7 separate regions of the Homo sapiens genome follow, and all the other regions are linked to region 5. Evidence: promoter capture Hi-C in 16 types of primary human blood cells and fetal thymus (Javierre and others, 2016). All regions are on one chromosome and are shown on one strand. Each heading gives the region's core, a stretch centred on a gene start or on the middle of the fragment in contact. The rest is flanking DNA. Distances are from core to core; before and after follow the strand shown.

Region 1 (3,647 bases), core at 666-3,165, 310 kb after region 5:
AAAGGAGGAATATAGACAAGATGAAACCAACAGAAAACAAATAGATGGTAGAGTTACATGAGATCATATCAGTAAGTTCGTTAAGTGTAACTGAATATCAGTTTTCTTTATAAAACACTAAATGATACATTGTTCATTAGTAACACACTTTAAACATAAAGACACAGATGACAGCAAAAGGATGGGAAAAGGACAGCATGAAAATATTAATAAAAAGAAAGCTGGAGGCTGGGCGCAGTGGCTTAAGCCTGTAATCCCAGCGGATCACGAGGTCAGGAGATTGAGACCATCCTGGCTAACACAGTGACACTCCGTCTCTACTAAAAAATACAAAAAATTAGCCGGGCGTGGTGGCGGCCACCTGTAGTCCCAGCTACTAGGGAGGCTGAGGCAGGAGAATGGCGTGAACCAGGGAGGTGGAGCTTGCAGTGAGCCGAGATCACGCCACTGCACTCCAGCCTGGGCTACAGAGCAAGACTCCGTCTCAAAAATAAAAAAAGAAAAGAAAAAAAGAAAGCTGGAGGCCAGGTGCAGGGTGCAGTGGCGCGCACCTGTAATCCCAGCACTTTGAGAGGCCCAGGTTGGTGGATCACTTGAGGTAATGTGTTTGAGACCAGCTTGGCCAACATGGTGAAACCCCATCTCTACTAAAAATACAGAAATTAGCTGGTTGCGGTGGCATGCGCCTGTAATTCCAGCTACTCGGGAGGCTGAGGCAGGAGAATTGCTCGAACCCAGGAGGCGGAGGTTGCAGTGAGTTGAGATCATGCACTGCAGCCTGGGTGACAGAGTGAGACTCTGTCTAAAAAAAAAAAAAAAAAAAAAAAGAAAGAAAGAAAGAAAAGAAAACTGATATGACCATATTTATGAGACAAAGTATACTTTCAGGCAAGAAGTATTACTAGAGATAAGAAAGAACATTTCATAATACTAAAAAGGTTTGCTTCAATAGGAAGACCCAACAATTCTAAATTTGTCTGGACATAATAACATAACTTTAAAATATATGAGCTGAACTAAAAGGAGAAATAGACAAATTCACAATCATAATTGGAGGTTTTTTTGTCGCCCAGGCTGGAGTGCAGTGGTGGGATCTTGGCTCACTGCAACCTTCACCTCCCAGATTCAAGCGATTCTTCTCCCTCAGCCTCCCGAGTAGCTGGGATTACAGGTGCCCACCACCACGCCTGGCTAATTTTTGTTTCTGTTTTTTTCAGATGGTGTCTCACTCTATTGCACAGGCTGGAGTGCAATGGCGAGATCTTGGCTCACCGCAACCTCCACCTCCCAGCTTCAAGTGATTCTCTTGCCTCAGCCTCCCAGGTAGCTGGGATTACAGGCGTGCACCACCAAGCCCTGCTAATTTTTGTATTTTTAGTAGAGACGGGGTTTCACCATGTTGGCCAGGCTGGTCTCGAACTCTTGAACTTGTGATCTGCCTGCCTCAGCCTCCCAAAGTGCTGGGATTATAGGCATGAGCCACCGCGCCTGGCGTTTTTTTTTTTTTTTTTTAGTAGAGATGGGGTTTCTCCATGTTGGCCAGGCTGGTCTCGAACTCCTGACCTCAAGTGATCTGCCCACCTCGGCCTCCCAAAGTGTTAGGTTTACAGGCTTGAACCATCAAGCCTGGCCTTAATTGGTTTTAACAGACATCTCTTAGTAACTGTTAAAAACAAGAAGACCAAAAAGTCAATACAGATATATTTAAACAACACTATTAAGCAACTTGACCTAATTGATATTTATAGAACACTATACCCAGCAACTGCAGAATACGCATTCTTTTCAAGCACATACCAAAGATAGACCACATGCTGGGGCATAAAGCAAGTCTTAAAAAATTTCAAAGTACTGAAATAATATACAGTATATTCACTGACCACCAGAAACCAATACAGATGGATAAGTAGAAAATTCCAAAATGTATAAAAATTAAGGAACATACTTCCAAATGACCTGCGGGCCAAAGAATAAATCACAAACAAAACTAGAAAATACTTTGAATCGAAGAATAATGAAAATAAAACATCAAAATTTGTGGAATATAGCTTAAACAGTGCTTAGAAGGAAATTTATGTTTTTTTAATTTCACAAAGATAATCCAGGCCCAGATGTCTTCAAAGGTGACTTCTTCCAAATATTTAAGAAGGAATAATGACAATCTTTCTCAAACCCTTTCAGAGATTAGAGAAAAAGAGAACACTGTTTTTGTGGCTAACATATTTTATTATGGCTAACATAAATTTGATGCCAAAACAAAAATCTTTTCTGCATATGGAAAGGATTATTAATATGCTTTAGAAAAATATAAATAATACGTTATATATCAGAAAATCATAATACATTTTATTGTAAAAATTATAAATACAACATTAGCAAGTTGAATACAGAGAAATAAAAAAGATAGCACATCATTACCAACTATGGTTTATCAAAGAAAACCATATAATTATCTTAATCAATACAGAAAAAGCATTTGATAAAATATAACACCCACTCAGGAAAAAAAAGCTCAGCAAATTAAGAATAGAAGGGAATTTTTTTAATCTGACAACAGCTATCTGCAGAAAGCCCAGAAACTATGGCTGACATATGTAATGGCGAACCATTGAATGCTTTTCCTCTGAGGGGCCACTGCAATTCTGTGGTAGAAAGTACAGGTTTTGGCATGGTGCGGTGGCTCACGCCTGTAATCCCAGCACTTTGGGAGGCCAAGGTGGGTGGATCAGGAGGTCAGGAGATTGAGACCATCCTGGCCAAGATGGTGAAACCCTGTCTCTACTAAAATACAAAAAATTACCCAGGTGTGGTGGCGCACGCCCATAGTCCCAGCTACTCGGGAGGCTGAGGCAGAGGAATCACTTGAACCTGGGACGTGGAGGCTGCAGTAACTGAAATCACGCCACTGCACTGCAGCCTGGAGACAGAGCAAGACTTCATCTCAAAAAAAAAAAAAAAAAAAAAGGAAAAGAAAACAGAAAGTACAGGTTTTTTTCAGCATATGAGGCTAGAACTCTTGGATATCCAGATGGAGAAAAATAACACAAAGTTGGTGATATGGTTTGGCTGTGTCCCCACCCAAATCTCAAGTTGAATTGTATCTCCCAGAATTCCTACATGTTGTGGGAGGGACCCAGGGGGAGGTAATTGAATCATGGGGGCTGGTGTTTCCCATACTATTCTTGTGATAGTAAGTCTCAGGAGATCTGATGGGTTTATCAAGGGTTTCCACTTTTGCTTCTTCCTCATTTTTCTCTTACTGCTACCATTTAAGAAGTGACTTTCGTCTCCTACCATGATTCTGAGGCCTCCTCAGCCATGTGGAACTGTAAGTCCAATTATACCTCCTTTTGTTCCCAGTTTCAGGTATGTCTTTATCAGCAGCATGAAAATGAACTAATAGATTTGACCTCCACCTTATACCATATACAAAAATTATTCAAGATTGCTCAAAAATATAAATATCAAATTAAAAAAATCAAACTTCTAGAAAAAAATAGGAGAGAATCTTCATGATTTTAGGGTAGGCAAAGATTTCTTAAACAGGATAAAAAGACAATAACCATACAAGAATAAAAACATAATTGGACTTCATGGAAATAAAAAGTTTTTTGTTTACTAAAAAATATCCATAAAAGAGTGAACAG
Region 2 (3,461 bases), core at 573-3,072, 330 kb after region 5:
GCTGCATGCGCGGACCCTGGTCTGCTCTTGAATTATTTATCGCGTTCCATAAGCTATTCATCAATCCATTATTTATTCATTCCAACATTAAAGTAATTAAATATGAGCTCACCGGGAGAGGGCAAGTCTGCAAGGGATGAGGACAAGAGTACGGAGGGAGAGGGGAGGAATTAAGGTTTGGAGTCATTGATTTGTGCGGAGTTGTGCGCGACTCCCCTTAGGTGATACTGGCGACGGGTCCCGCGTTGCAGGGTCCTGACGCGCTCACCCACTCCCTACCTCCCCACACCTCCGCAGCGCAGCTCCCTCAGACCCCAACTGGCTTCCCACCTTTCCTCTTCCTTCTCCTCCCACCACTCCCTACCCGCGCAGCCCCGGCAACACCCCCAACCCCCAGCTCCGCAGCCTCGCCCTCCCCGCTCTGGGCGGTGCGGCCTCTCTGCCCAGCCGGGCGGCGCGCTGGCTGGCCAGCCCCGGATAGGCGCCGCCGGCAGCCAATCAGCGTGCCGGGGACGCTGCGCGCTTTAAGGCCGCTGCGGGGAGAACAGAAACCAAGTTCCCCGGCAACTAGCAGCATCCACCGGGCGGGAGGTCGGAGGCAGCAAGGCCTTAAAGGCTACTGAGTGCGCCGGCCGTTCCGTGTCCAGAACCTCCCCTACTCCTCCGCCTTCTCTTCCTTGGCCGCCCACCGCCAAGTTCCGACTCCGGTTTTCGCCTTTGCAAAGCCTAAGGAGGAGGTTAGGAACAGCCGCGCCCCCCTCCCTGCGGCCGCCGCCCCCTGCCTCTCGGCTCTGCTCCCTGCCGCGTGCGCCTGGGCCGTGCGCCCCGGCAGGCCCCAGCCATGTCGATGCTGCCGTCGTTTGGCTTTACGCAGGAGCAAGTGGCGTGCGTGTGCGAGGTTCTGCAGCAAGGCGGAAACCTGGAGCGCCTGGGCAGGTTCCTGTGGTCACTGCCCGCCTGCGACCACCTGCACAAGAACGAGAGCGTACTCAAGGCCAAGGCGGTGGTCGCCTTCCACCGCGGCAACTTCCGTGAGCTCTACAAGATCCTGGAGAGCCACCAGTTCTCGCCTCACAACCACCCCAAACTGCAGCAACTGTGGCTGAAGGCGCATTACGTGGAGGCCGAGAAGCTGCGCGGCCGACCCCTGGGCGCCGTGGGCAAATATCGGGTGCGCCGAAAATTTCCACTGCCGCGCACCATCTGGGACGGCGAGGAGACCAGCTACTGCTTCAAGGAGAAGTCGAGGGGTGTCCTGCGGGAGTGGTACGCGCACAATCCCTACCCATCGCCGCGTGAGAAGCGGGAGCTGGCCGAGGCCACCGGCCTCACCACCACCCAGGTCAGCAACTGGTTTAAGAACCGGAGGCAAAGAGACCGGGCCGCGGAGGCCAAGGAAAGGTACGCGGCGTGCTTCCCGCGACTCGGGCGACCCTAGGAAGCCGTCCTTTCTCCTCCGCCCCCTCCCGCCCCCGCAGGCACCAGCCACCAAGTCCTCCCCGCCGGCCGGAGCCCGTCCACGGGGCGGCGCGCAGGCCCTCCGCGGCGCTGCAGCGAAAGTTCATGAACTCTGAGGTTCCTTGCTAAGGATGGGGCCTCATTTGCTTTGAGCACCCGCGCGTGGGTTTCTCTGGGATGTGAGTGTCGGGAAATATTGGCGCTAGATTTGGTCTTTATGCCTCCCTGGCTGGCCGCGGCTATGAGTGGTGGGTGGAGAGTGAGTTTCTAAATCAACGGGCAGTGAAATGTTGATTGGTGTCGCAAGGAAAGGGGTTTGGTGGGAGCTGAGGTTCGCGAACCTCTCTCCTCTTGCTCCCCAGAGGGGTGAAGCTGGCCTGAGACATTGGCTCTGCCCCCACTCCCGCCTGGTTCTCCACAGCTCTCTCTTGATAGTCTTTTGGTTTAGAGGTAGCCTGCTTCATTTCTCACTAGCTGGACAAATGGAGGAGACTTTTAAAGATACAACAAAAAGAGAGCTTTGGGGAGAGTTGGCGCTGCATTTACTCCCCGGCGCCCCAAATTAAGAAAGGGTTGATCCTCGCCGTGCTCGCTCGCGCGTGGCCCGGCACTGCAGCCCGTCGGTCTGGCTGACCGCGCCGCATGCCCAGACGAGGAAAGGGTCTCCAGTCGCAGCCCTCTCTCGCACTGGAGCTCACAAGGCAATATTTTAAAAATTGGTCTCTACTTTCCCCCACCTCGGGGCAACACCTTCGGCCACCTGGGCAGGCTCCTTCTGTTCTCTATAGCGTTTCGGACAGAGATTCAGAAGGACGGTGGGGAGGTGGCTGTGGCGGGGAGAGCGCTCCGCGAAGCCAAAGAGTTTGGGGGAAAACCTGAGCGCAGGGGCCGGTTAGGTTTTCCTTTGTTCGCTTCCAAGACTAGGGGCCGAAGATCTTGCTCCCTTTCTTGTCTTGGTGGAAAACCAGAGCCAGGATAAATTCTGCTGAAATGGGCTTGTCGGGAGACAGAGACTGTGAGGATAAGGGGAAAGAAAGGAGACAGACAGGCGCTAGGAGTCGGGAGGACTGACGAGCACTCGGAAGGCGGAAGCGGCGAGGGAAGCGAAATCCTGAAGTTAACCGGTACCGAGTGCCCGGACTGACGCCCCAGCGCGCCGCGCCCGCTGGCAGCCTGTGCGGGGCGGCGAAGTTTCCCCTGCCCAGAAAGGATGGGTTGGGGTGGGTGTTGGTAGGAAGTTTGAGAGGGGGACACGAGGGGCTGAAGAGTTAGCAAGTAACACAGGAACAGGGATTGTATGGTTGCAGTTAGCCTTTAGTTACAAAACGGCCGTCCTATAAGCCAGGCCCGAGGGCCGACTCCAGATGAAATCAGAGACTGGCTGCGCTCCCTGTGTTTACTCAGGTCACTGGGCCGCGCTGGGCACCACTTCCCATGACCTGTTCTGTGTCTGCAAAACCACCAACTCTGGGCTGGGGCAGGAAAACGGGATGTTTAATTGTCTCCTCATATGCGAACAAGGCAATGGACTTGATTCACCCCAAACATTTGTGCATTGGACTCTGTCCTCTATCATTTCTTTATCACCAATATCTATTTATTGAAAGATTTTCAGTTACATTTAAATATGTTGCTAGTTTATATGTATTTAAATGTAACTGCTTGAACAAAATTTAAAACATATATTTTGTATGTTTCAAATAAATCCTGCTAATCTATCACTTTCTGAAATCTGGAAGAGAAAAGGACCTGGCTCCTAACAGGAGGCTCTGTCCGTAGCTCTCCATTTCTCCAGGTTCCTCTGACTCCTCACCTCCCCCATTACCCTTGGGGATGGGTGGAAGGGTAGAGCTCCTCCATTTGGGTTGGTGACAGATTGCACAATGGCCCTTTCCTCCTTCCAGCTCCCCTCCCTCCATCTCACACTTTTTTTTTAACCTACTTTTTTTTTTTTTTTTTTTTTTTAACCATATGGTGTTGTCCTCTATTTCTTAGGGAGAACA
Region 3 (3,436 bases), core at 542-3,041, 290 kb before region 5:
GTGATGAAATAATCTGTACAACAAACCCCATAACGTGAGTTTACCTATGTAACAAACCTGCACGTGTACCCCTGAACTTAAAACTTAAATAAAAATTAATTAATTAATTAAAATTCCTGGGAGTAAATAAAGTTTGGATGTTTATAAATTTTATGACAATTTTGTGACTTTCTATACATTATGATTAAGTGATCAAAAAATTTATCATTAATTTTTATTCAAATAATATTTTCTGCAATATGATTCTAGTGGTTACTACAAATTTCTTTTTTCTCTAAAAAAACTTTTTCACAAATATGTTAGTTTTACAACTATGTCATAAAGAAAAAATTTTTGGCTCTAACTTTGGAAAAGTACACGTCATTTACTTTGTCATAAGCATAGGCACAAAAAATGGAAAAGACTGCCACTTTTTTTCTTTTCACCAAATGTCTTTGCCAAATAGGAAGAATATGTCTTTTTATATTTGAAACTATATTTTTCTTTTTAAGTGGAAGACCAATAAATATTGGCAGATGCCTTTCCCAGGAACTGTATGAAACTGACTCACAGCTTAATGGACTGACTGATACACTTACAATAGTCACTTCTTTCTGGAGCAGAAAGCCTCCAGAGTCTTTCCAGAAGCAAAATTAAGTATGCCCAGTTAGCATTCTATGAATTGCTTTGAATTGCTTGTACTGGAACAGTCATTCAATCAAAGCAAAAAGCTTTAGGTGGGAATGATTTAAACTTTGCCTACTTTTTGAGGTTGATATTGAACCTAAGAAATATATATATATTTTTTGGCAGGGGGCAGCGTCTTGCCCTGTCACCCAGGTTGGAGTGCAATGGTACGATCTCGGCTCTCTGTAACCTCCGCCTCCCGGGTTCAAGTGATTCTTCTGCCTCAGTCTCCCAAGTAGCTGGGACTACAGGCATGGACCACCATGCCCACCTAATTCTTTTGTGTTTTTAGTAGAGCCGGGGTTTTACCAAGTTGGCCAGGCTGGTCTCGAACTCCTGATCTCAGGTGATCCACCTGCCTCAGCCCCCCAAAGTGCTGGGATTACAGGTGTGAGCCATCGCACCCGGCCAGAAATATAAATTTTTGTAAACTATTTTAAAATTGTGTGTAAGTGAAGCTGGTACCATTCTTCAATACCAAAACAAATATTTCTTCCATTCTAAGCTGCACTTCCCCCCACATTTTAACATTTCTAAAATCAGGATGTATATCAAAGTCTTGGCTTCTCACAATCCATGGCATGTTACAATTGCTGGCACTTAGACAGACTCACTGTCAGCCAGGTAATGGTCAGGATGTAGCTGTCATTGTGCAGTACTGTCATATTTGGGGCAAAACACTGCATTGTGTACAATAACATAGACATTGAAGATTCTGTCTTTAAGGGATTCCGAAGAGTTGGACTCTGAACATGAAGGAATTTTAGGAAAATCTTAGCAAAAATAAAGCTTAGTTTATTTTAAATATATTTTTCTTTTCATATCAGCAGAAGCATGATACGTAAGAAAAATCTATCTAAACAAATATAAAAGCACCCTTTTAATAAGGATAAAGTGCAAAAAATGTAAAAAATTGTTAGGTGATATTTTAATTGGCAGCATTTTTTTTCTTAGTGGTACATAACGTAATGGTGCATCTTATGATTCTCGACATCTTAAATTCAATAAATTATACAGCATAACAACAAGACAGTGGAAAAAATGCTTTTGAATTCAAAACCAGATGACATAAGATGGCATTAACTGAAAAGGTGTATTCACTCAATTTCCACTGCCTGCACTATCAATCCATTCTGAGAAGAAAATGGAATTTTTAAAATGCTCTCACTCCTCTGATGTAAACGAATACTAAAAGAATAAAACAGTGTGCCGGATGCCAACATGAATCAGCTCCTCAGCCTTCAGCATCTCACTATAATTATTGGATTCAGTCCAACCAACCTTCAGGATCACAAGAAGGGTAGCTGAGGGGCTCAGAGATCAAAGCCTACATGTAGTTCGTCTGAAGCCCATGTAATATACCTCACTGGAAGGATGCACTTGGGGCTAGAGTGTCAGAAGAGTGAGAATATTAAAGAGTCTTTCTCAGTCCCTGAGGTCTCCTTGAACCGGGAAGCTTTGCTAGATAGGCATACATCAAGGCTCCGAGCATTACATCTCGCTGTACTCTCTCAATCTGAATTGTATGTGAGTATGCGAAGTTGATGACCACATATAAATCATAGTTATTTCTGTTGACAGGAAATAAAGTTAGACTATCAGACATACTCAGAGCCAATATCTGCTTTCATGTTTTTCAAAGTTATAGGGAAAAGATGTCTTCCATTATTGTGAACGTATTGTCAGAGTGAAGACTGAGCCAGTTCTATAGCCTCCAGGTCCTTTTCTCCGCCAAGAATGGAAAACATGCTGTGATAAAACGTTGCCAAAGGAGAGTTCCAAATAAAAGCCTCCCAGTCTATTTAGACTTGGCGTGGTTGAAGACTCCCTTCAACCCCACCCTCTACCATCCCACCCAAGGAATGAAGTTTTTGCTTTTCCTTCAAAAACTGTGTTTCTTGTTTCCCATCACCCATCCCCATCACCTCATCTCCCTCCCTAGGCGCCGTTTCAGCAAAGCTCGGGGAATCAGAATTTTTTTTAGCATACACAGATTCTTATATCAGTTTTAGGGCCTCTATTAGCATAAAATATACACAAATAAGTGCATTAGCAGCATATAGATGAACCAGGCATATAAAGCCATTTCTAGTTACATATTCTCGTGAGACAATTCCTCTCCTGGTCCTTCGTAAAACAAGTTTCCATCTGTCTTTGCTCAAGATCCATGTTTCAGTGCTGAGTCAAGCCACTGATTCGGAGGCTCATGAATGATTTTCCTATGTTTCCCTGCAATGCATTTTACTTTTTATGCACTCCCAGAAGTTCCTTGCTTTTAAAAATGGTCTTATTATGCAGCTTCAGGGGCTATTTATCACTACATACTTTCTGGACCTATAATTTTTATTTATGTATTTATTTATTTATTTATTTTTGGAGATGGAGTCTCGCTCTGTTGCCCAGGCTGGAGTTCAGTGGCACAATCTCAGCTCACTGCAACCTCTGCCTCCCAGGTTCAAGTGATTCTCCTACCTCAGCCTCCCGAGTAGCTGGAATTACAGGTGCATGCCATCACACCCAGCTAATTTTTGTATTTTTAGTAGAGTCGGGGTTTCACCATGCCTGCCAGGCTAGTGTCGAACCCCTGACCTCAAGTGATCCACCCACCTCAGCCTCCCAAAGTGCTGAGATTACAGGCATGAGCCACCATGTCCAGCCAAGGACCTATGATTTTTCTAAAAGCTTCAGTAGTCTTTAAAACTCTTTCTCCCTCTTAAAGAATCCCTTTTCACATTCTTGGGGGTGATCTCAGCTCACTGCAACTTCTGCC
Region 4 (3,573 bases), core at 136-2,635, 350 kb after region 5:
TAGTGTGGTATCTTTTGTGTGTATGTGGATGGCTGTTAAGCTGATGGCTGAGGAAGCTTTGAAGACTTTCTATTTATTCATATTTTAATTGATTTAACCTCTTAAGATTGAACAAAAAGTTATAATGTTTATAAATACTTTTTATGGAAGAAAAATATAAGCTTGCTTAGTGTAGGTGAATTACTGAGACTATAATACTGATGGCTATTATATGTATACTGTATCTCTTTATGACTACCAGATTGGTAAATTTTTTCAGTAAGAAAAAAATCGATTATTGAGTTTTATAGAAATCAATGGGTTATTAAGATGAAGTACCATCTTAGACAATGTGCATTCACGAATCAGCTTAATGTCAGAAAAAAATTTCTTATCTTGGATCAGCTATTTGGAGACAGTAAACAGAACCAGCAGTGAATTCCTAAGGACCATAGTTTTTGGTAATGTATGTGAAGTGAGAGATTACTGTAACTTACTTATTTTCTCAGCAATTTGACCTATCTAGTAATCTCTCAAAAGCTTGGCTCTTTCTTTTCCCTATATCTTCCTCTTTCACACATTCTCATAACCATGCCAGGTAGATTCTATGCAATTGTCTTTACTAATGGAAATAAACACTATTGAATCATTGACTCATTCATCAACAGTGGGTAATTAATTAAGGCTTGTAGGGGGGAGACATTGGAGTTGGTAATGAAGTTGAATCAAAAGGGGTAAGAAAAAACGTTTTCTCTCTTTTGCTGATAAAGTTGTGCTTATAATTAGCTAAAGATTTGAAAAAGTAAAAATGTAATGCTAGAAGGGATTAGATAATTGAGTGAACTTGTGCTGCCTGGTTGAGCCAAATGCTTTGCATCTAGAAAGCAGACATGTCAGCACAGAGATCTCTTCTAAACTTCTGGCCCCTTTGTTTTCATCAGAAATGAATCCAAATATTTAGATATGCTCTGAGTGTTACAGTTAAATTAGAAATTTTGCCTAGAATGAAATCTCTGGCAAAGTGAAATTGCTGGCCATGTATGTACAAGCAATGATAATAAAAGTAAGGTTGAAAACAGTAAGCATCTCATGAGAATTCCAACTTAGTACTGTCTTTGTTTGTGAATGCAAGGAAAAGAGGTAGTGGAGTGTACCTCTAACTCTTATAGGAACACTTTTCTACCTTGAGAATTTGGCAATAGTTAGAAAACCACCATCGTGAAAGGCCTCTGCCCTCCTGGTAGAATGATTTAATGTGGCTGTCTCAGAAAGAATCTGCTCATGGCCACTGGTTAATTCATAGAGTTGAGGTCACATTTATTTTAAAGAGTTGACCAGTTAAATATAAAGAAAGCTCTCCTTTCTAACAATGAGTAGAGAATTATGGTTAAAAATATTATTCACGAGCAATCCACAAAATGGTTCTTGGGTCAAGTGTAGCGCTAACAGTGAGGATTTGGCCATGGCCTCCAGATACAACTGTATATGGGATAGCCTTATCACCCTGCCTGATCTCTCTTGATAAGATTGTGGAAACTAAAAACCGTCCAGGTAGCCTTGGAGACAAATTGTCCCTGAGAAATGGGAAGTACAATTACCTAGAAAAGCATCATGGTAACATCACATATTTTATAACAAAGGTGTAGGCTGGTTTCATTAAGTTGTATCTAATATATACGTCATTCATGTTTGGGGGAGATAAGTATTTTTATTATAAAAAATTTAGAAAAATGATCTTTGTCTTTAAACTGTGACTCTTTACCTTTGCTAGCATTTTTTTTAATTAAAAAAAAATCCAAACAAAAATACTGCCAGATTACCCCAGGAAGGTGTTAACCATAGTAAATGTTCATAAGGTAATGAGAGCAAGATTTTTATCTAACTACATTCAGTGAATTTATTGGTGTTTAACTCTGTATTAAACCCAGAAAAACAAATCTAATATAAACAGTGTCTTTTTGGAATAATTGTAGTTGTATTGGTTAACAAGTATAAGCATGTGTATAAACTATGGTTACACTTTTTAAACTAGATTCTTCCAAATGCCTAAGGCTGTGCCTATAGAAAACTGGCATCACATTCCCATAAAACAACAACTACTTCAAATGCAGTGAAACTGGCCATTTGCAGTACAGAAAGCATAATGTTTATTGGACTGACTGCTCCAATTTTATAAACAGTTTGTAAATCTAGATTAGGCAGGCAGCTTCAGTCAACCTTTTCCCTCACCCCTTAGTAAATTACAGGTCTGTTAAGGTACACAAAAGCTTTCAGGCCATCAGGGTTCTATTTCTATCTTTTTATGTTTTAAAATTTCTTTCTATATTTTTAGTAGAATCATATCTTAGAGATCTGCTAAAGAGTACACCAGCTGCCTGAATGCCTTACTGTATTCAGCATGTTGGCAAAGATAATTTATTAAGAGTGTAACTTGTACATAATAAATAACATCCTTTATTGCAGTTGTCTAACCTGTGGTTTGTCATCTTCTTGTTAAGAGTTCAGGGTGGCTAGAAAAAAAAACATTTAAGGTTCTAGATAACCCATCAGAACAGGCTGAGTTTACTGCATTGTGGTTGCCTTTTAAGGTTCTTGGCAGAAGTTCACTGCCACCTTTGATGCCCACTCAAAACACCTCAGTATTTATCCTTTAAAAAACATTTTCTGGTGTTATTTCCAGAAGCAGTAATTATGCTCTCAATAAACCCCTTCTAGTCTTGTTCAGAAAGGGTTTAGAGGGGCAAGTATCATTTCGAGTTTAGCACATTAGTTAAACCTCAAGGGGTCTAGGACTTGGGCTAAAATCTGGAAAATATCTCATGGATTTTCAAATTGTCCATACTTTAGATAGGATCAGCTTGTGATGATTTAGAGACTTTGTCTTGGTCAACTTCAGAAGGTAGCATTATCATTCCTTTTTCTTTCTTCCTCCCCTCAACAAGAAAACCTTGACTCTGATGATTTATAAAGAACCTAGACATGTAGTTTTCTTTTCTGAATATTGAATAAATGTCTCTGGAGTGTTCTCAGGTTGCCAGATGTCATCCTGATATTAGAGGCTGACTGTCCTTTGTTTAAAGTTCCCAGGTAAGAGATTTCTAGTAAGACCTGATCCATATGGAGCACCTGAGGAGAGTCTGATCGGTTTTATATTTTTCCAAACTTTTGTTCTTGGACATTCCCCTACTCCTGTTTATTACTGAACCTAATTTCCCTTTGTGTTCTTTATTTTCTCGTCCATAATTCTGTCTAAGTTTTAAGGCATAGATGGCATCTGAGGGAAGATAAATAGAGGAAGAAGATGGGTATCTATCATATGAGAGGGTGCACTTTATTTATCTTTGTATGACCAGTGCCCAGCTCAGTGCCAAATACCTAGATGGTGCTTCATGGATGCTTTTTGAATAGATGAAAGAATGATGTTCAGGAGTATAAGGGACAGTGAGTGATAGGAACATTTCTCCTATTAATGTATTTAAAGGGTAGGCCTAATGCCTAGCAAATAGTAGGTGTTTGAGAAATGATAGCTTAAAACACAGACACACAGAGAAATCTTGGGGGTCAGAAACCTAAAACAATGTAATTTAAATCAAT
Region 5 (3,560 bases), core at 745-3,244:
CAAAACACATGTCTGGCCTCTGAAAGTGAAATAAGACTACTTAACAATACAAAGAGACAGCGAGGAATGAAAAGATTATGTGTTGTATTTGCACTCACAAAATTGCTATTTGGAAGTTAATCTGCATGGCTTTGATTCACTTTGGCCAAGGAGATACAATGAATATGCCACTCTTAAGTGTCATATTTCATTATAAATGAAATGTGGATCAAGTTCCCATTTTTAAAAACTAGTCACACTTCTGTGTATTTAAGAAGCTATGTAGTAGCCCTCCAAGGTACACACTAGCAACAAGAATAACAAGAAAAATGCTAAAACCCCAGAAATAACTAACTAGAAATTGTATAATAGCAGCTTCTGGAATCTATCTCTCTACTTCTCCGTATATTATCAAAATGGAAAAAAAAATTTGATGCTAAAATATGAAGACTCACCTAAATCCAAAGACACCGGTATTAGCCAAAACATAAGCTAAGCCAAGGATGCCACTTCCCATGATGGCATTCATCAAATTAAACACTGATAAACCAAATGAAACACCTGGGGATCGCTGTCTGTGAAGTTCCTGTAAGCACACAAATTTAGTAGTGTTAAATGTTTGGACGGTGAAGTTAAAATTTCGTAAAGAAATTCCATAAATGAAAGATTATGGAAAAAAGCTGCAAACCACCAGGGTTTGTATGACACACTCGTTGCTTAACCAACACTAATTTCCTTTCCTTTCCTTCCCACCTCCCACTACTGCAGCTCCAGGAATCTAGGGTTTCTTAGGAAAATGATTTCCACCAGTACACAAGACAGGCAGAGTTCAGGAAGGGCCATGACTAACCTTGTGACTGCAAGAGATGAAGATAGGATGGGAATGGAGTGGGGAGAGAGAGGAGGGATAAGGCCTCAGCTCATGTGATTACTAAAGAATTGCTGAGTCAACCTGGGACTGCTGTGGGCAGTTGTTTCTCCTCAATTACTAGGACTGCACAACTAATCTCTACTTATATATCTAATGAATTAGTTCTACCAAACTGGAAGGATGGTCAGGAATATCTTGCAATGACAATATTATAAACAGAAGCAATTCACGTTGTTCTGGCAGTATCCCTGAAAACATCCCCCTCCCCACAAACAGCACCGGGAACAAAGTCCTGGGAACAGTGTCTAGGACTCGAGTTAAAAAGCGGAGTGCCCACTGCACAGGCTTTAGGGTCAGGAACGTGCTATGCACTTACTACCAAGCCACTTCCATTCTACCGCTAAGAATTTCTGTATTAAAATGTTTATTATTTTCCCTCCCCCCATGACTAAGTCGGAAGAGGAAAATCCTGTGACTCTTGCAAAGACCTCACGAGACTGGTGGAGAAAATAAGGTGACAAAAATACTAACTAACAGCAGTGAGTACATAATCCTAGGGCCGCTCATCCCATCATGTTCGCAGCTTCCACTCAACGCTGCATCTCTTCCACCCGACGCTTTTCATCTTTTCTTTCTAGAGTATGCTAGGCTGCTATCACGTTCATAACTGCGCCAATCTCATCTGAATCTCGGCGGCTGCCTTCAGACCCCATCCCCCAGGGTTCAGGCTCCAGCATCTCCCCTGTCCCGGTGCGGTCCTCCTTTTCTGGGTCTTATTTGGCAGGCACTTGAGGGAAGCCGGAGGGCGTCAGCGCGGGGAAGCGAACACAGCCCACTTACGTTGCTTAGCAACGGACTCAACTCTTCGGCCTCCGCTTCTTCAGGCTGCTGGACAGAGACATACCAGCCCCGCTCAGCGTTGAAGCTCCCCCAGGACGCCTCCATGCTGCTCTCCAGCTGACTACCAGTTCCATCTACGAGCCTCTACCCCTGCCCTGCGCTCCAGTCGTCGGTCGCGCCAGAGGCGGAGCTTTGAGCCCGGCCCTTCCGGCATTCCGTACTTCACCAGGGCCTGGAAGGAGAGGAGCGAGTCGACTTGATCTGATGACGCGCGCCCTCTTCGCGGCGAACAGTGATGATGTCATAGAAGACCCGCCCATCCACCCGCGACCCACATCCGATCGGTACCGGAGCGGGAGGTGAGGGGTCGGCTCGCGGATCCAGCTGCAGAGCGACGTGGGGAATTGGAATGGTGCTTTGGTGAGGTGGCGGCCGCGTTAGGGGCTAATGGTCCAGGGGAGGTACCAGCCCGCCCAGGGCTGCTCTCTGCCATGTGCTGCCTGGGCACAGAAACATCGCGAGGTCACCCACCCGCCTAGGTGCTGAGCTTAGTTTCGAGGTTCTGGATAGTAAGGAATGTTTCAAAAGCCTTTCGCCACATTTTACTGGTGGGAAAACCGAGACTTATAGTAATTTATCCAGGGTCACCCAGCTGGTCAGCTGCTAGAACCAATTTGATCTCTGACGGTGAAGTTAGACTTCGTTGCTTTACAGGATTCTGGGACAGGGCCCTTTCCCCTTACAAGTAAATTCTTTGGTATTTTAGAAGACAGTGAATAACTGATACTATGCATATAACAATCAGCAAAGCTCTCGTCCTCAAAATACAGAAGCCTCTAGTTAAAGGCAGGACATGTGGCAGTAAAGCATCGAAAACAAACAACAGAGCAATATATTAAGAACACAAGCACCGAAGTCAGTCAAAACTAGGTTTTAATCCATGTTTAGCCACTTATCAGCTGGGAGACTTTGGGTGGGTTACCTTACGTCTGAGCTTTAGTTTACTTATTTACAAAATGAGGGTGCAATACTGCACACCTCCCAAGATTCATAATGTACATAAAGCATTTAGCGCAGTATCTGACACAATAAGCACCCATGAGACTATCCTAATAAATATCACCACTAGTAATGGTCATGTATAATGACTATTTCATTTACAGATGACCATTTAACTCATACTTCAGTCTTCCAATCCCAAATGTATTATCTAGAAAATTGTGGGTGAAGAGGATCATTGAGTATGGCTAATGGATCACTAAGCCCTCTGAACTGGGAGCAGATGGGTTGAAGGTGTAAATTTAATATATACCACTATTATCTACCACTAATACGACTTCCTGAAGAAGTCATCCTAGTCTGGAAAAGATAGTATACTTCCCACACATCACTAAACGTTTTATTTGTCAGCATTTAGCCCGTTATTTGAGATAGTAGAATTTAGATTTTTATTCTCAAAAGCTGTCGTGTGTGAATTTTTTTTTTTTTTTTTTAAGGATCTTATGGAGGCCATTTGGATTCTCAGGAAGATTTCTGAAACTGGAAAGCCATAGCATAACTGAATCAAAATCGTTGATTCCAGTAGCTTGGACATCCCTGACACAGATGCTTTTGGAAGCACCTGGTATTTTCTTATTGGGTCAAAGAAAAAGATTCTCAACCATGCCAGAAACAGAAACACATGAGAGAGAGACTGAATTGTTTTCACCACCTTCTGATGTCCGAGGCATGACAAAACTTGATAGAACAGCTTTTAAAAAGACAGTCAACATTCCAGTGCTTAAAGTGAGGAAAGAAATAGTCAGTAAATTGATGCGATCCCTAAAAAGGGCAGCATTGCAGCGCCCAGGCATAAGACGTGTGATTGAAG
Region 6 (3,151 bases), core at 328-2,827, 300 kb before region 5:
TGTTGGTCAGACTGATCTCGAACTCCCGACCTCAGGTGATCCACCCGCCTCGGCCTCCCAAAGTGCTGGGATTACAGGTGTGAGTTCACCCTCTCTTTGACCACTGTTTTGCAGTAAGTTAGTGACAAAGAACCAACACACCGTGGCAGGGAGTGGAGAGAATTCGCTTCTGTCTTTTGTGCCTCTGGTGCTTACAGTGCTAGTTAATTAAAGTTTCTCTGCATCTTCCACTAGGGGGTACCACTCCATAACTTTTGAAACAGAAGTCTGCTGGATGCAGTTCTTAATAAAAAATGAAGTCCAGGCACAAAGAATTTTTTTAAAACTTTTCTGAGCGCATGCTGTAATTTTATGAAGCAATTTAATTTGATTCTTTTTAAATAAAAGCTGCCCCATGGGCAGAGTAATAGGCAACAATCTTGAGCAGTATAAACCTATATAAGGGAATGCCAATTAAAAACCCAGGTTCTGTTACAGTAAGATAAATAGTCATGAATTAAATGAACTACATGCAAAAACTGAGAACAGCCAGACAAGTGAAGTTATTTTTATTCTAGCAAGAGAAATGAGCATGCTAAACAAAAGTTGGATTTAAAACAAAAGCTTTTGTAAAAACAAAAATACAAGCAACTCAGCTGTTCCTGGGACTCTGTGTAAATGGAACAGAGTTTGCTTATCTTTGGGGTGTTAAGAGAAGATCTGCAACAATAAACACTGGTTCAAGGTTAACGTTTTTGGAGTTTTTTGAGGAGGAAATATGCCAAGGCCTTACAGTGTAGCATGGTTGAAGAAACAGGACACTGGAATTAAGCTGCCCTTTGAATCCCTCATCTCCCCATTACAACTATGAGAACTCAGGCAGCCTCCATTGCACTGGCTTGAATCTTAGTTTTGCATCAGTTCTTTGAGTATAATTGGACTGAATGCCCCCCATTTGTGTACAAATTAGATGGGACAATGTATATAAAGTGTTTACGCAGTGACTGTAAGTACTGATTCACAGAAGGTACTCAATAAAAGTTAGCTATTATTCAATGAGTCATTGTAAGGAAGACTAGGAACAGAAATCTTTGCTTAAAAAAGACACACTAACAATCATTTTGGTAAACACGTTCGTACAGATAAGCAATCATGAGAACAGAGAAGTTAAGCAATTTGACCAAGGTCACACAGTTATATCCTAAGGAACTTTCAGGGTAGAATCTGAACTTCCTTAAGGTCCGGCCAGCATTCTTTCCCCTATCCAATACTATTCTCCTAGTATCTGAGAGTTTATTGGCATAGACTAAATATATTCTGTGCTTAGCTCTTGGTTTTGTTGGCAAATTTTTGGTGAAAGTATCAAAATATATACATTGGTGTGGCAGTGTAAATATGACTCCAGCAGTATGTATTTTTAAAGAGCTTCACCTTTAAGTCCCTTTCCTACTTTTAGAATTTTATCCCAAGGAAAAAAATCTGAAAGAAAACGTTAGGGGGAAAGGGAGACACATAGTTTTTTTTAAAAAGGGTTATATGCAGAAAAGATGGTCACTATCATATACTTTGGAATACTGAAAAACTGGATATAACCTACATGTCCAACAATAGTTAAATATGATAGACCTATGAATTATGGCACCATTAAGGAACATAGAAAATATTTATTTCAATCTTCATCTCATTCCAAAATGAGGTAATTTGACAACTAGAATAATTGTGTGTATATCTTAATTACAATCTATTAAAAATTAAATATTTACATGGATAAAGTCTGGGAGATAAAATGAAAAAATGAAGTGATTTTAGCAGTATTTGGACTAGAAATGCCTTTTTTCTTTTCCTTTGAGTTCTTAATAACACTGATACAAAAAACAATTTTAGAGTGAACTTGTTTCTTATTTTACTGGTACTAAAGAGTTTACATGATCCAAGCATCCTTTAATACATCACAACATATGTAATAAAATGAGAGAAATGAGATCTGAACCTTCCTTACATAGTGAACTCTGAGGAACACGACAATGTATATCTATATCAGTCTTCCACCTCTCGGAACTTACGAGCTGGTAGGGGAAATATAGTGTATACATGGACCTTGGTACAGCTTCACCTCCAAGATCTTTAACACCCCATCTCATACCAGCACTTTTTCCTCCCAGCTTTCACGGCACCTGCCAATTAACATTATTAGGACTGCCAATCTACCAGTATCTTCTTTTTCTTTTGATCCACAGGGTTGGTTTCATTTTCTTCGCCTTTCAGATTAACTACTAAGGCACATCTCTTTAGCCACCCCTCCACAAGGACTGCAATACCTTGAATTTTTTATCTTTCAAATTCATCTGCCCTGAAAACCACCATATGCTGGTCACACTCAGTCATTTCTTTCTCCCAGCCTGAGGTGCGGGAGCCCAATACCCAGCTGCATTCTGCAGAGGGCATTTTTATCACCCTGCCCTCTTGTTTCAGAGGTGAGATAACTCTGCACCTGTTCTCTGAAACCAGTGGCTCTGGCTGGTGGATCAGCGTCTCCAGCCTGCTCCTGCCTTTGCACTATCAGTAAGCTTGCCACCCCTCTTTTCAACCTCATCTGCACTATTATCTTTTTCCCTCAGGATACACACTTCTCTGACATCTAAAAAAGAAGCCTTTCCTTTAGGATACATGCTCTTCTAGACAGTTATCACTTGCCTTTCTCCTTCCCTTTCCACACATTTCTAAAAACAGGCTTTCCCCTTTAGAACCCCATTCTCTCTTTTTTTATTTTATTTTTATTTTTTGAGACAGGGTCTTGTTCTGTTGTCCAGGCTGGAGTACAGTGGCGCAATCATAACTCCCTGGTTAAAGCTATCCTCCCACCTCAGCCTCTTGAGTAGCTGGGACCTCAGGCACATGCCACCACACCCAGATAATTTGTTTTTATTTTTTGTAGAAACAAGATCTCGTTATATTGCCCAGGCTAGTCTCAAACTGCTGGGCTCAAGTGATCCTCCTGCCTTGGCCTCCCGAAGTGCTTGAATTATAGGCATGAGCCACCATGCCCAGCAAGACCTCATCTCCAAAAAATAAAAATAAAAATAAAAAAAGAGTGTCTTCCTATCTTGCTATCTGCTTCCCTTTCCCTGCACCTGATGGTAACCTCATTCCTGCCACACAAACCACCCAAAGT
Region 7 (3,525 bases), core at 211-2,710, 290 kb after region 5:
TCCCCATGTTTATTGTAGCATTATTCACAATAGCCAAGATATGGAATCAACCTAGGCGTCCAATGACAAGTGAATGGAGAAAGAAAATTTGGTATATATACACCGTGAAATACTATTCAATCATAAGAAAGGATGAAATTCTGTCATTCACAGCACATGGATGTTACAGAAAGATGTTATGTTACATGAAATAAGCCAGGATCAGAATGTTAGACACCATGTTATCACTCAAGTGTGGAAGCTTAAAAAAATGATCTCATGGAAGTAAAAAGTAGAACAGACAATACTAGAGGCTGGGAAGAGGACGGGAATGTACATAGTGATGTTTCGATATATGTAATGTATAGTGATCAAATCAAGGTAACTAGCACAGCCATCATCTCAAACATTTATCATTTTTTTGTGTTGGGAACATTTGATATCCTCCTACCTAGTTGAACTATATATTATCGTTAATGATAGTCATCCTATGGTGGCATAAAACACTAGAACTTATTCCTTTTTTTTTTTTTTGAGACAGAGTCTCGTTCTGTTGCCCAGGCTGGAGTGCAGTGGTGCAATCTCGGCTCACTGCAACCTCCGCCTACCGGGTTCAAGTGATTCTCTTGCCTCAGCCTCCCAAGTAGCTGGGACTACAGGCACATGCCACCACACCCGGCTAATTTTATATTTTTAGTAAAGACAGTGTTGAAATAAATTTTTGTTAAAGGATGCAAAATTATAGCTAGATGAAAGGAATAAGTTCCTGGCCAGGTGCGGTGGCTCATGCCTGTAATCCCAGCACTTTAGGAGGCAGAGACGGGTGGATTACAAGGTCAGGAGTTTGAGACCAGCCTGGCCAATATGGTGAAACTCTAACTTTACTAAAAATATAAAATTAGCCGGGTGTGGTGGCGCGTGCCTGTAGTCCCAGCTACTTGGGAGGCTGAGGCAAGAGAATCACTTGAACCCGGTAGGCAGAGGTTGCAGTGAGCTGAGATTGCACCACTGCACTCCAGCCTGGGCAACAGAACGAGACTCCGTCTCAAAAAAAAAAAAAAGGAATAAGTTCTAGTGTTTTATGCCACCATAGGATGACTATCATTAACGATAATATATAGTTCAACTAGGTAGGAGGATATCAAATGTTCCCAACACAAAAAAATGATAAATGTTTGAGATGATGGCTGTGCTAGTTACCTTGATTTGATCACTATACATTACATACATCGAAACATCACTATGTCCCCTATGAATATGTGCAATTATTATTTGTCAATTTAAAAATGAAATAAAATAAAAGACAGGCCAAAAAACGTGATATGACTCTGCATGTCTGAAATGTAATTGGGTAATTGGACACTAGCCCTTTTATTCTTTTTTTTTTTTTTTTTTTTTTTTTGAGACGGAGTTTCTCTTGTTGCCCAGGTTGGAGTGCAATGACGCGATCTCGGCTCACTACAACCTCCACCTCCCAGGTTCAAGAGATTCTCCTGCCTCAGCCTCCCAAGTAGCTGGGATTACAGGCACCCGCCACCACGCCCAGCTAATTTTTTGTATTTTTTAGTAGAGACAGGGTTTCACCATGTTGGTCAGGCTGAACTCCTGACCTCAGATGATCTGCCCATCTCAGCCTCCCAAAGTGCTGGGATTACAGGTGTGAGCCACCGCACCCGGCCACTAGCCCTTTTATTCTAGCATATCTCAGTATCTGTAATTATCTGATAAACTGGTGTTCAGCAGCACATATTTTGTGAAACACTGCGTTAACTCAGAGGGAGGACTCTCTAATGAGGACATTTCATACATTATATAGGCCAGTAGAACAGATATTCTGGGCTTCTGTAGTACCTTTCATATCATATCACATTATGTAAGCATATCAGTTAGTATACATGCCTATCTGCTGTTGTAGAGGCCCAAAATTACAGTGACTTCAATAAGATAGAGGTTTATTTATCTCAAGTGACTGCCCAAAGGTGAGTAGCCTAGGTTGACAAGATACCTCTGCTCTATCAGGCCATCCAGGATCCCAGGCAGGCAGTTGGTCTCTGTGCCCCTCAACATTGATTTTCACTCCCTGTCATTTCTAGAGTAGAAGCTATCTCTTTTTTTATTTATTTATTTTTGAGATGGAGTCTCACTGTCACCCAGGCTGCAGTGCAGTGGTATGTTCTCAGCTCTGTAGCCTCCACCTCCTGGGCTCAAGGGATCCTCCCACCTCAGCCTCCCAAGTAGCTGGGACTACAGACACTCACCACCACACACACTAATCTTTTGTATTTTTTGTAGAGATGGGGTTTCACCACATTACCCAGGCTTGTCACAAACTCCTGAGCTCAGGCAATCCACTCACCTTGGCCTCCCAAAGTGCTGTGATTATGGGCATGAGCCACCATGCCCAGCAGAAATTATTTCTTTAAGAAATAATCAAGATATTGCTTAAATCACTTCTTACATATCATTGGCTAGTCACATGTCCACACCTAGCTCCAAGGGAATTGTAGTCTCTAGGTGAGTAGCCATATCCCCTACTAAAAGGTGGGGAAATTATATTCCAAAAAGGAAAAAGGAACCATAGACACTGGCGTGGGGGGCGATGGTCAATGAGTAATCTGCCTTGGACCATAGACACTGGGGTCAAGGGCAATGGTCAATGAGTAACCTGCCACTGTATTTGGCCTACTTCCTTGAAGCTTATGGAGCTCTCTCGTCTGGATAACAGAATGCAAGTAGTCATATAAATGAAAGACGAAATGCCAATTTTTCATTGGAGATGTCTATAGATCTCTCTTTGAATCAGGATGATAAATATCATCTTTAAATTATCATCATCTTGTATCTCCTTAAAAAGTTTGAGGCAATGTACAATTCTCAGTTTAAAATGAAACTCAAAAGCTGTTTTTTTTTTGTTTGTTTGTTTTTTAAGAGATGGAACACACTATACTGCCCAGACTGGACTGCAGTGATCATTTACAGGCCTAATCATGGCACACCACAGCCTCGAACTCCTAGCTCAAGGGATGCCACCTTAGCTTCCTGAGTAGCTGGCACTACAGGTGTGCATCATTGTGCCTGGCTCCGAAACTGCTCATTTAAAAAAAATTTAGACTTATTCGTAATCAACGAATTATAAGCTCCATAAGGATAGTGTCTTACCATTGTTGTCAGAGCAATGTCTCACACTATAGGTACTTGGGAAATAAATATTCCATGAATGAATAAGAAGCAATATTTTAAAATTAGATACTATTATCTCCTACTAAATTAGTAAAGATTTAAAATAATGATGATGCTTAATGCTGATGTATGTGCAATAAGGCAGACGATTTTACATATTACAGATGGAAGTATAAATTGGCACAACTTTTCCCAAAGGTAGTTTTTAAAATTACAACTACAAAAACAAACAAGTTTTTGCTAATCATATGAGCAAAGATATAAAAATTTGTTAATACATTATCTTGATGAGGGTATCAGGAAGCATACTCTTTCACACATTACTGATGGGAGTCTGTTTGGAATAACCATTGTAGAGACATTTGA

What was found. The method cuts DNA at HindIII sites, captures the fragments that hold promoters and counts their contacts. A CHiCAGO score of 5 or more calls a contact.
Region 1: a contact is called between a fragment that was not itself captured here and the fragment with the promoter of TRMT5 in region 5, in 1 of 17 cell types (endothelial precursors). The highest score is 6.0, in endothelial precursors.
Region 2: a fragment that was not itself captured here is called in contact with the fragment with the promoter of TRMT5 in region 5 in 13 of 17 cell types (endothelial precursors, M2 macrophages, M1 macrophages and 10 more); the score reaches 14.8 in endothelial precursors.
Region 3: a contact is called between a fragment that was not itself captured here and the fragment with the promoter of TRMT5 in region 5, in 2 of 17 cell types (endothelial precursors and M2 macrophages). The highest score is 6.2, in endothelial precursors.
Region 4: a fragment that was not itself captured here is called in contact with the fragment with the promoter of TRMT5 in region 5 in 15 of 17 cell types (endothelial precursors, M2 macrophages, M1 macrophages and 12 more); the score reaches 17.6 in endothelial precursors.
Region 6: a contact is called between a fragment that was not itself captured here and the fragment with the promoter of TRMT5 in region 5, in 1 of 17 cell types (M2 macrophages). The highest score is 5.0, in M2 macrophages.
Region 7: a contact is called between a fragment that was not itself captured here and the fragment with the promoter of TRMT5 in region 5, in 1 of 17 cell types (endothelial precursors). The highest score is 5.5, in endothelial precursors.

Annotation. Positions count from the first base shown.
Region 1 is chr14:60,669,310-60,672,956 of GRCh38, reverse strand. No RefSeq gene overlaps it. Among named protein-coding and RNA genes, the nearest start is that of SIX1, 22 kb to the right of the region's middle. The HindIII fragment of the contact is 9,505 bases long and covers 1-3,647 here.
Region 2 is chr14:60,646,570-60,650,030 of GRCh38, reverse strand. SIX1 (SIX homeobox 1) reads left to right here and starts at 554. Exons shown (of 2, transcript NM_005982.4): 1 at 554-1,401; 2 at 3,454-3,461. The coding sequence starts at 842. It overlaps MIR9718 (microRNA 9718), which reads right to left and starts at 1,383; the gene lies at 1,320-1,383. RefSeq lists a silencer at 398-637 and enhancers at 648-1,268, 1,269-1,890, 1,891-2,512, 2,513-3,135. The HindIII fragment of the contact is 4,221 bases long and covers 1-3,461 here.
Region 3 is chr14:61,266,024-61,269,459 of GRCh38, reverse strand. It overlaps a transcript of PRKCH not described here. Among named protein-coding and RNA genes, the nearest start is that of TMEM30B, 14 kb to the left of the region's middle. The HindIII fragment of the contact is 667 bases long and covers 1,458-2,124 here.
Region 4 is chr14:60,628,871-60,632,443 of GRCh38, reverse strand. No RefSeq gene overlaps it. Among named protein-coding and RNA genes, the nearest start is that of SALRNA1, 8.6 kb to the left of the region's middle. The HindIII fragment of the contact is 1,727 bases long and covers 522-2,248 here.
Region 5 is chr14:60,979,513-60,983,072 of GRCh38, reverse strand. It overlaps TRMT5 (tRNA methyltransferase 5), which reads left to right and starts at 1,994. Exons shown (of 5, transcript NM_020810.3): 1 at 1,994-2,110; 2 at 3,187-3,560. The coding sequence starts at 2,100. It overlaps SLC38A6 (solute carrier family 38 member 6), which reads right to left and starts at 1,828. Exons shown (of 16, transcript NM_153811.3): 1 at 1,691-1,828; 2 at 435-565. The coding sequence starts at 1,795. RefSeq lists an enhancer at 1,725-2,104. The HindIII fragment of the contact is 5,504 bases long and covers 1-3,560 here.
Region 6 is chr14:61,283,443-61,286,593 of GRCh38, reverse strand. It overlaps a transcript of PRKCH not described here. Among named protein-coding and RNA genes, the nearest start is that of TMEM30B, 3.7 kb to the right of the region's middle. The HindIII fragment of the contact is 1,943 bases long and covers 606-2,548 here.
Region 7 is chr14:60,690,590-60,694,114 of GRCh38, reverse strand. No RefSeq gene overlaps it. Among named protein-coding and RNA genes, the nearest start is that of SIX4, 32 kb to the left of the region's middle. The HindIII fragment of the contact is 2,434 bases long and covers 244-2,677 here.